Regions from separate parts of the Homo sapiens genome. Here regions 1 and 2 are each linked to region 3. Evidence: promoter capture Hi-C in 16 types of primary human blood cells and fetal thymus (Javierre and others, 2016). All regions are on one chromosome and are shown on one strand. The core of a region is centred on a gene start or on the middle of the fragment in contact, and the rest is flanking DNA. Distances in the headings are between cores, read along the strand shown.

Evidence for each region. The method cuts DNA at HindIII sites, captures the fragments that hold promoters and counts their contacts. A CHiCAGO score of 5 or more calls a contact.
Region 1: the fragment with the promoter of SMTNL1 here is called in contact with the fragment with the promoter of SSRP1 in region 3 in 12 of 17 cell types (M0 macrophages, erythroblasts, activated CD4 T cells and 9 more); the score reaches 11.7 in M0 macrophages.
Region 2: a contact is called between the fragment with the promoter of UBE2L6 here and the fragment with the promoter of SSRP1 in region 3, in 8 of 17 cell types (M1 macrophages, M0 macrophages, activated CD4 T cells and 5 more). The highest score is 11.4, in M1 macrophages.

The regions. Positions count from the first base shown.
Region 1 is chr11:57,536,216-57,538,915 of GRCh38, reverse strand. It overlaps SMTNL1 (smoothelin like 1), which reads right to left and starts at 1,321. Exons shown (of 8, transcript NM_001105565.3): 1 at 1,274-1,321. The HindIII fragment of the contact is 14,036 bases long and covers 1-2,401 here.
Region 2 is chr11:57,566,301-57,569,000 of GRCh38, reverse strand. It overlaps UBE2L6 (ubiquitin conjugating enzyme E2 L6), which reads left to right and starts at 1,329. Exons shown (of 4, transcript NM_004223.5): 1 at 1,329-1,416. The coding sequence starts at 1,390. RefSeq lists a silencer at 966-1,325 and an enhancer at 2,579-2,700. The HindIII fragment of the contact is 19,025 bases long and covers 1-2,700 here.
Region 3 is chr11:57,334,473-57,337,172 of GRCh38, reverse strand. SSRP1 (structure specific recognition protein 1) reads left to right here and starts at 1,281. Exons shown (of 17, transcript NM_003146.3): 1 at 1,281-1,443; 2 at 1,933-2,105; 3 at 2,525-2,700. The coding sequence starts at 2,052. It also overlaps a transcript of P2RX3 not described here. RefSeq lists enhancers at 1,143-1,192, 2,043-2,112 and a silencer at 1,363-1,542. The HindIII fragment of the contact is 4,158 bases long and covers 1-1,343 here.

The DNA.
Region 1 (2,700 bases), core at 72-2,571, 200 kb before region 3:
AGTGAAGATGCTCAGAATGCTGAGAAACCAGGACGCCACCACCCACCCCCAGCATTCACAGCCCTACAGCAGTTTACAGCTTATGCTGCGGAGGCCCTGCTTTCTCTTGGTCATTTCTTGCTCCGACCCTTCAGAATAGGTTATTGGCCCCATTAGGGAGCCAATGGGGATTTCAGGCTCAGGGAGTTGAAGTCCCTTGACTAAAGTTATAGGACAAGTGGCCTGGCTCTCTATCTAGAATCCAAGTATCCCAACTTCCACTCCAGAGCTCACATCAAATATATGCTCCCACTAGCTCCGCAGCCCAGTGTCCCTACAAAGGCCCTGGCCCAGAGTGGGGGCACCCCACCAGTTGGGAAGGGCAGTCAGATTCAGCCGAGGAGTTCCTCCCTCTTTCTTCTAGGTGCACAGTAGGCCCTTCATGAAAGTTTCTCTGCCCCCACCTTCCTTTCTTATTCTCTCCTTTCCTTCCTCCTTCCTTCCCCAGGAAGTCTCCAAACCATCCCTGTTTTGTGTCCAAAGCAGCACTGCAGATATCTCCCCTCCCTCTCTCTTCCTGTTTCTTCTGGCAGACCAGGAGGAAAGGGACCCAGGAGCCCAAGATCCAAACTCCCAGTAGTATAAACACTGGATGTTCTGTGGTGCGTCTGCCACCCACTGCAGCCTCATCTGTCATCTGGTTGTCCTAAGGCTTCCACCTTCCCCACTCAGCCAGGGGCCCTCCCTTGGAGAGGCCGACCTCAATTGCTTAGACTAGGGGTATCCAATCTTTTGGCTTCCTTGAGCCACACTGGTAGAAGTAGAAGTGTCTTGGGCCACATGTAAAATACGTTAACACTAACGATAGTGGATGAGCTAAAACAAAAATTGCAAAAAAAAAAAAAATCTCATAATGTTTTAAGAAAGTTTATGAATTCATGTTGGGCTACATTCAAAGCCATCCTGGGCCACAGGTAGCCTGTGGGCTGGACAGGCTTGGCTTAGACAGTCTACCCCCCAACCCAGTTTGACTCTTGAGACTCCCAAGGTCCCCTCCCCTGCTCTGTGGCCTCCTCGTGGATGGCCACTTGCAGTCTGCTCTGTAGGTGCTCTGGTGCAGGGCTGAGACCCCAGGCATCTAAAGAGAGTAGACATTGTGGTGGAGAGAATTAGAAAGGAGCCTGGATTTCTCCAAATGGGGGGCCCTCCTGGGAGGCTCTGGCCCTTGGACAGTGGGAGTGAGAATTGGCAGATGGGGAGGGACCCTTAGAAAGGGTGCCAGGGCTTCTCCTACCTGTGGGGCTTCTGCCTGTGGCTTGGGAGCTGTCTCTTTGCTCCAGCTGAGTGGCCTCACTCCCAGGCTGCCTTTAAGCCCCAGTGGCCTCTAGCCCCCAGCTCTTTGGTCCCGCCTCCCCCCTTCCTCTCCCTCTTCCACCCCACCCCCACTTCAAGAGTCTTGGGCTGCCTGAAGAGCATTGTTTACTGGCCTGTTGGTACAACACTTTACCCTAGACTGGGAGGCTCGGATTTCCCGTGGAAGATCTGACAGGTGGCACCTTTCAATCACGGCACGTCCCTTCCGCCCTGAGCCTGGCAGCATCCGTCCTGTGGTCATCTTTCTCCCCAGTGGACTCTCCTAACCCTAGGGACCTTGACAACCATCTTCAGGACTCATTTAGAGCATGGCCCTGGCCTCCACTGCTCATCCAGAGCCCAGGCGAGGCCTCTTGTGCTCCCTTCACACCCACCCCGCCACGTTCCTTACATAGCCCCTTTCCCTCGTCCTCAGACAAAAGCAGCTGCTTAAGGCTGGGCTAAGGAGGGGGCGAGTAGGGCAGCTGCCAACACAGGGGATGTGTCTTGGGGCTCACAGTTGACTGAGAGATTTGGAGGGGGAGGGGCAGAGAGGGCAAAAGTGATGGGACAAGCTGACGGATCACTGGACGGAGCCTGGAAAATACAAAACTCCTGAGTTCTATTTTGAGCTGAAGTGACAGGTACACAGTAGGCTCTGAACACATTTTTATACTGAACTGACATTTTGCTAAGAAAAAAACAAAACAAGCCTGGGCATGGTGGCTCATGCCTGTAATCCCAGCACTTTGGGCAGCCGAGGCGGGTGGATTGCTTGAAGCCAGGAGTTCAAGAACAGCATGGTCAACAGGGTGAAACCCTGTCTCTACTACAAATACAAAAATTGGCCGGGCTTGGTGGCGCATGCCTGTAATCTCAGCTACTTGGGAGGCTGAGGCACGAGAACTGCTTGAACCTGGGAGGCAGAGGTTGCAGCAAGTCACTGCACTCCAGCTTGGGTGACAGAGACTCCATCTCAAAAAAAAGTCTTCACTTTCTCTGTGTGTTTTACAATCTAAGAAAGGCACTACTTTTGGAGAATGGGTGCAGAGGACACTCCCACGAAGCTTGGGATCCCCCCCAGTCCTCCTACCCCAAGCCCCACCACTGGGCCACACTGGCCTCCTTCCTATTCCTTAAATAAATCCATCCCTTTTCAGACTCAGGACTGGTTTTTCCTTCTACTCTTTGTAAGACTGCCTCCCTCTCATTCTTCTGGACTTAGCTGAAATTTCATTCCCTCAGAGAGGTTTTCCATGACCTTCAATTCCTCTCCCTCATTTCAGCAGTTTTTATTGTCCTCATAATACTAAATCTAAAATTACCTTATTCATTTCCTTATTATCTGACTCTCTCACTAGGCTTTAA
Region 2 (2,700 bases), core at 80-2,579, 230 kb before region 3:
GGGTGGATTACTTGAAACCAGGAGCTCGAGACCCTGACTCTACTAAAAATACAAAAATGAGCCGGTCGTGGTGGCGCGCGCCTGTAAATCTCAGCTACTCAGGAGGCTGAGGCACGAGAACAGCTTGAACCGGGAGGCGGAGGTTGCAGTGAGCCGATATCGCCACTGAACTCCAGTCAGGGCGACAGTGAAACTCTGTCAGAAAAACAAGAAACAAAAAAACTGTGAGGTACTGAGATCACAAACTGGTGCTCAAAATATACTGATTTCCTTTCTCGTCTGGACTAAACGGGGGTAGGGAAGGGTGAGAAGGAGGGGATCGGCCCTCCCAACAAGTCTCATCTTCCCCAGATGCTGCTTGGTGCTCAGGGGCTGCAAGTACTCTGTCCTTGCACAGAGGGTTGGGGACTCCAGCTGTGCATGGGGGCACACATTAGGCCCACAGCTTGTAATGGACCAGTAGTAAAGTAAGGGAGGGGAAGCAGACTCTCTCTTGGAAAGGAGGCTCCTGAGTCCTTCTTGGGGCTTCCCCCACCAACTGTTTCCCAAACCAGCATACAGTAGGCACTTAGTAAATACTAAACCTAGTAAAGGACTGAATGATGGTAGACCGAACCCCCAAAGCAAAAGAGAAAGGGTCCAACAGCGCCTCCTTGCGGTGCTCTGCCCCAAGCCACGGGGAGAAACGTTGCAGCCCGCGCCGAACGCCGGGCAGCACAAAGGATCCCCGACTGCCGGGGAGCGGTGCTCGGAGGGCACAGGTCTACGCCATCCCCCACGCAGTTTCGGAGATGGAGCGCTGGGCCCATGGAGGGAAGGCGGCAGGCTCGGCGGCTCCGGCAGCTTGCTGGGGCAGGGGCTCAAGGCGGCAGTCCGATAGTGGAGGCCGCTGAGAACTGTCACGGAGCTGCGTCTGTACAGCGAGCATCCCTTATTTATTCAGGGCGAGTGTGTATTTGGGGCGGCGTGCAGGGGGCTGACAAAGACCGGAGAGCTCCCGGTGCGGCCGCCGGCGGAGCGAAGACTGGAACCCGTATGAGCGCCCCCCAGCGCCCCTGAGCGCTCGCCGCCGGTGCACGGCGCACCCCGCGGGAGGCAGGGATCAGCAAAGCCGTGCGCCCCGAGGCCCGCCCCCGTCTCCGCACAAAGACCGTGAGTCCCGGGTCCGAGCCTTCCGCGCGGGGATCGGGCGGTTGTCCGGCGGGTCGTCCTTCGACGGCCTCCTGGCCTCGCCGGAGCGGGTGCGGGGAGGCCCACGCAGCGACGGCTGGAGGAGGGGTGGGCGGGGCTGCCGGGGGTGGGGTCCCCGGGGCGGGGCGGGGCGCGCTGTGTCGCGGGTCGGAGCTCGGTCCTGCTGGAGGCCACGGGTGCCACACACTCGGTCCCGACATGATGGCGAGCATGCGAGTGGTGAAGGTAACCGCGTATAGGATGACCCCTTTCTCTTGGCTCCCCTCGCCTCCCGCATTCCCTCCTCCCTCCATCCCCTCCGCGGCTCTCCGAGCACATTTATTTATTTGTCTGGGCACCAGGGCTGGCTGAATCCCTGTCCTCCCCGCCCTCTACTCAGAGGAGGACTGGCCTGCAAGAGTGGCCAGAGCTGGGGTTTTGGGGGTTTGGAGGCCTCTGCTTGAGCCGTTCGCGTGGTGAAGATGAGCCGGCTCCCCCAAAACTGGTTTCAATTTCGCTTTTCCTGCCTGAAACTTGTGATAACAACTGGGTGCATCTCCAGTGCAGGAAAAGTCCTTGGCATCTTGGTGCCAGGCATTCTGCTACTGCTGGTGGTGGGTTATGAACACAGATGACCAGGATGAAGTCCTTGCCTTGGAATAAGCCCATAGCCCATCCCATAATTTGATGCCTGTATTACTAGAGTCCTGAGAAACACGGAATGCTGATTAGAATTTGGGACAAAGTTCCCTGAGTATTCTCTGGAGGAAAAGATGCGGAGGTGGACCTGGAAGGCCTCCTGGAGTAGGTGGCTTGCGTTCGTGAGTTCTACAAGTGTTGAATGCCTACATGTGCTGGCCCTGTTCTAGGAGGGGGGGGGGGGCGGGCAGAGATGAACACAAATCCGGCCCTTGTTGAATTTTGTTCCTATCAGGGACACAATTTGAAATAAGATCTGGAAGGATGGGGAGGGGGCAGTTTCCTCCAGAAGGTGGGAAAACCCAGGGTGTTTGGAGATGGATTAGGGAGGAAGGTGATCCTGGTGAAGTGAGTCTGGCACCCCAAGTCTTTCAGAAGTGCCCCTTCCAGTCTGCAGGGTGGAGGGGCAGGCTCTAGGAAGAGGGTGCCTGCTACCCTCAGCCTCTGAGAAGAAAATGGCCTCAGACTGGGATGCCCAGAGCAGGCTTGGCCTAGATACTAAATCTGGAGGTTGGCAGCAAAATGAGGCAGAGGGTCTTTCCAGCCAAGTGGAAGAGAGATGGGAGCCAGAATTTATTGCATTGGAACCATTACATGCCAAACGGTTTACATGGTTATTTCATCTAATTCGCACAGCAGTTCTGTGAGATAAGTAATATATACCCGCATTTTACAAATGAGGAAATTGAGGCACAGAGGAAATAACTTGCTTGTCCAGAGTCTTTCAGTAAGGAGCAATGGGACTGGAATATGAAACCAGGTCCACAGGCCTCCAGCCTGCAGGCTCTCTTAATGGCCTTTCTACTTTCATTTTCTGTTCCTCTGAGTCAG
Region 3 (2,700 bases), core at 32-2,531:
TTATAGGCACCCGCCACCACGCCTGGCTAATTTTTGTATTTTTAATAGAGACGGGGCTTCACCACGTTGGCCAGTCTGGTCTCAAACTCCTGACCTCAAGTGATCTCCCTGCCTTGGCCTCCCCAAGTGCTAGGATTACAGGTGTGAGCCACCGTGCCTGGCCGGGGATGTTTTCACCTTGTTCAAGTTTCCTCAAATCTGAGAAGTGTGCTAAAGTAGTAATAGGCCCTCAATATCTATTTATTAAACCCAGTTGAATTTATTTTGCTAGATAATGCTGGAATAGCCACTACTCAGAGGTTAAAGCTATGAGTTCAGGGGAGAAGGGTGCATTCCTGTTGTCTCTTACCCCAGGATTGATTTAGCAAGCTGGTGTATTGATTGTCAGGGAAATCTTGAGCTTACATATTCTGTACTAATGTCTTCATGTAGGACACATATCAATAGTCATTCTGAACATACAGTCACTGTGATTATGACAGAAGATAACTGGACTGGTGGTGTTAAGGAGGTCTGGGTCCTACCTAGCCTTGTTGCCAACGCACTGAGACCCTGGGCAACTCACTCCCCTTTGGGTCTCAGTTTTCCCATCAGTAAAAGGAGGTTGGGGTAGAAAAACTAAAACATCTTTTCCAGGTCTGGTCTCTGATGTTGCAAAATGCACTCTGGGATTATACGGGGGAGACCTGGCTTCCGCAACCACAGGATGATGTGGTTTCAAATCAGTTCTGGCTCCAAGGTGAATCTGACACCAGGACTTGAACTGGATAAGGCCGTTTGCCAGCCTCTTGGAGGTACCTATAATTTTCGGTTAAGGATGTGAAAATTTTGGGTGTAGACAGTGAACTTGACAGTTCAGCCAGAAAGCAGTGCACCCACGATGACACCAACACCCGCATACTCTCCGCAGCCAGTGGGAGAGGTCGTTTCCTCCCACAACTGTTCAAATACTTCTCTTCTTGTCCCATCGACTCCTTTCCATGACATAGAAACTATTTTGCAGAGAAACGGGCACGCATCATTCCAATACACACCCCCACCCCACCCCTGTACTAAGTCTGATACAATAAAACTACACAATTTCTCTTTAGTATCTAGTCTCGACTGAAGAAGTGTCTGTAGTTTCTAAAGAGCCCTACACACATTTTCTAGGCCGGATTCCCCCTGGGTGAGAGAGGCTTCACGGCAACCACCCTTCCCTCAGGTCCTCCAGAGTCGCTGACGCTCTATGCGACTGTCTCGCAGGCGGGCCCGACTCGCGTCTCTCTAGCCAGCTCATCCTCTCTGTGGCCTGTGTACGGCTTCCGGTGGCGGGACGCGGGGCCGCGCACGCGGGAAAAGCTTCCCCGGTGTCCCCCCATCCCCCTCCCCGCGCCCCCCCCGCGTCCCCCCAGCGCGCCCACCTCTCGCGCCGGGGCCCTCGCGAGGCCGCAGCCTGAGGAGGTAGGTGGTGGTCGTCCCCGGTCCCAGGAAGGCAGGGGCCCCGCTCCCCCACGGGACCCTCGACATGGACCATTCCGCGTTCGCAACCGCGGGGAGCGGGCGAATCCATTATGTGGGGCGGGGGTGAACCGTGGGTCTGGGGCCGCGGGGTGGTGGGAGCGGTGCGAGGGAAACCCTGCACTCTGAGCTGGATTGGGTCGCGTGCGATGTGCGGGCTCCTGGCAGACCCTGGGGTTCCGCTGCTCGTTGCCATGGCTCCCGCCGGAGCGGCCAGAGCGGGCGTCGGGTTGGGTGTCAGCGGTATTCCGGGCCCGGTTCTCCACCCAGGCCTGGACCTGGACCCTCGGGCACTGCAGCGTCCGTCTGTAGGTTTCCAGGCAGAGGAAATCCTGAGACATCCAGGCGCAGCTGGGAGTTGCTACCTGGCTCCATCCGTGAGCACAGCGAGGTGCTGTCTTTCATGCTTATCTGTCTTCCTCTTGAATTCAGATTCCCAACCTGCTGAGCATCCGCACACCCACTCAGGAGTTGGGGCCCAGCTCCCAGTTTACTTGGTTTCCCTTGTGCAGCCTGGGGCTCTGCCCAGGCCACCACAGGCAGGGGTCGACATGGCAGAGACACTGGAGTTCAACGACGTCTATCAGGAGGTGAAAGGTTCCATGGTGAGAATGGCTTGGACAGGTGATACAAGTAGAGAGAAGGAAGGAGGGTAGAGTTTTTGTCCATTAATGAGAGCTTGCTTTGGTAACGTTATTTTGGAAAAAGAAGACTCAGTATAATGTGTACCTAGTGTCTCCACCAACTCAAGGCAATACTGAGAGATAGTCTCAGAGTTATAGGGACCGTATATGCTGTTCAGTTCCCAATTCCTGTTTTACAAATGAGGAAACTGAGAATCTGTTAAGGGTTCTAGATACCAGAGTCTGGTTTAGAATCTAGACTCCTTGGCACCCTCAGCTGTTGCTCCTGCATTGATAATCTGGCCAGTCCACTTGCAGCAGGAATGTGTGTTAGGTAGAGCTGTAGAACCCAGGACATGCTGTGTACTGTCTCCATGCATCTGGGCCTGCTTTTCTTACAGAATGATGGTCGACTGAGGTTGAGCCGTCAGGGCATCATCTTCAAGAATAGCAAGACAGGCAAAGTGGACAACATCCAGGCTGGGGAGTTAACAGAAGGTATCTGGCGCCGTGTTGCTCTGGGCCATGGACTTAAACTGCTTACAAAGAATGGCCATGTCTACAAGTATGATGGCTT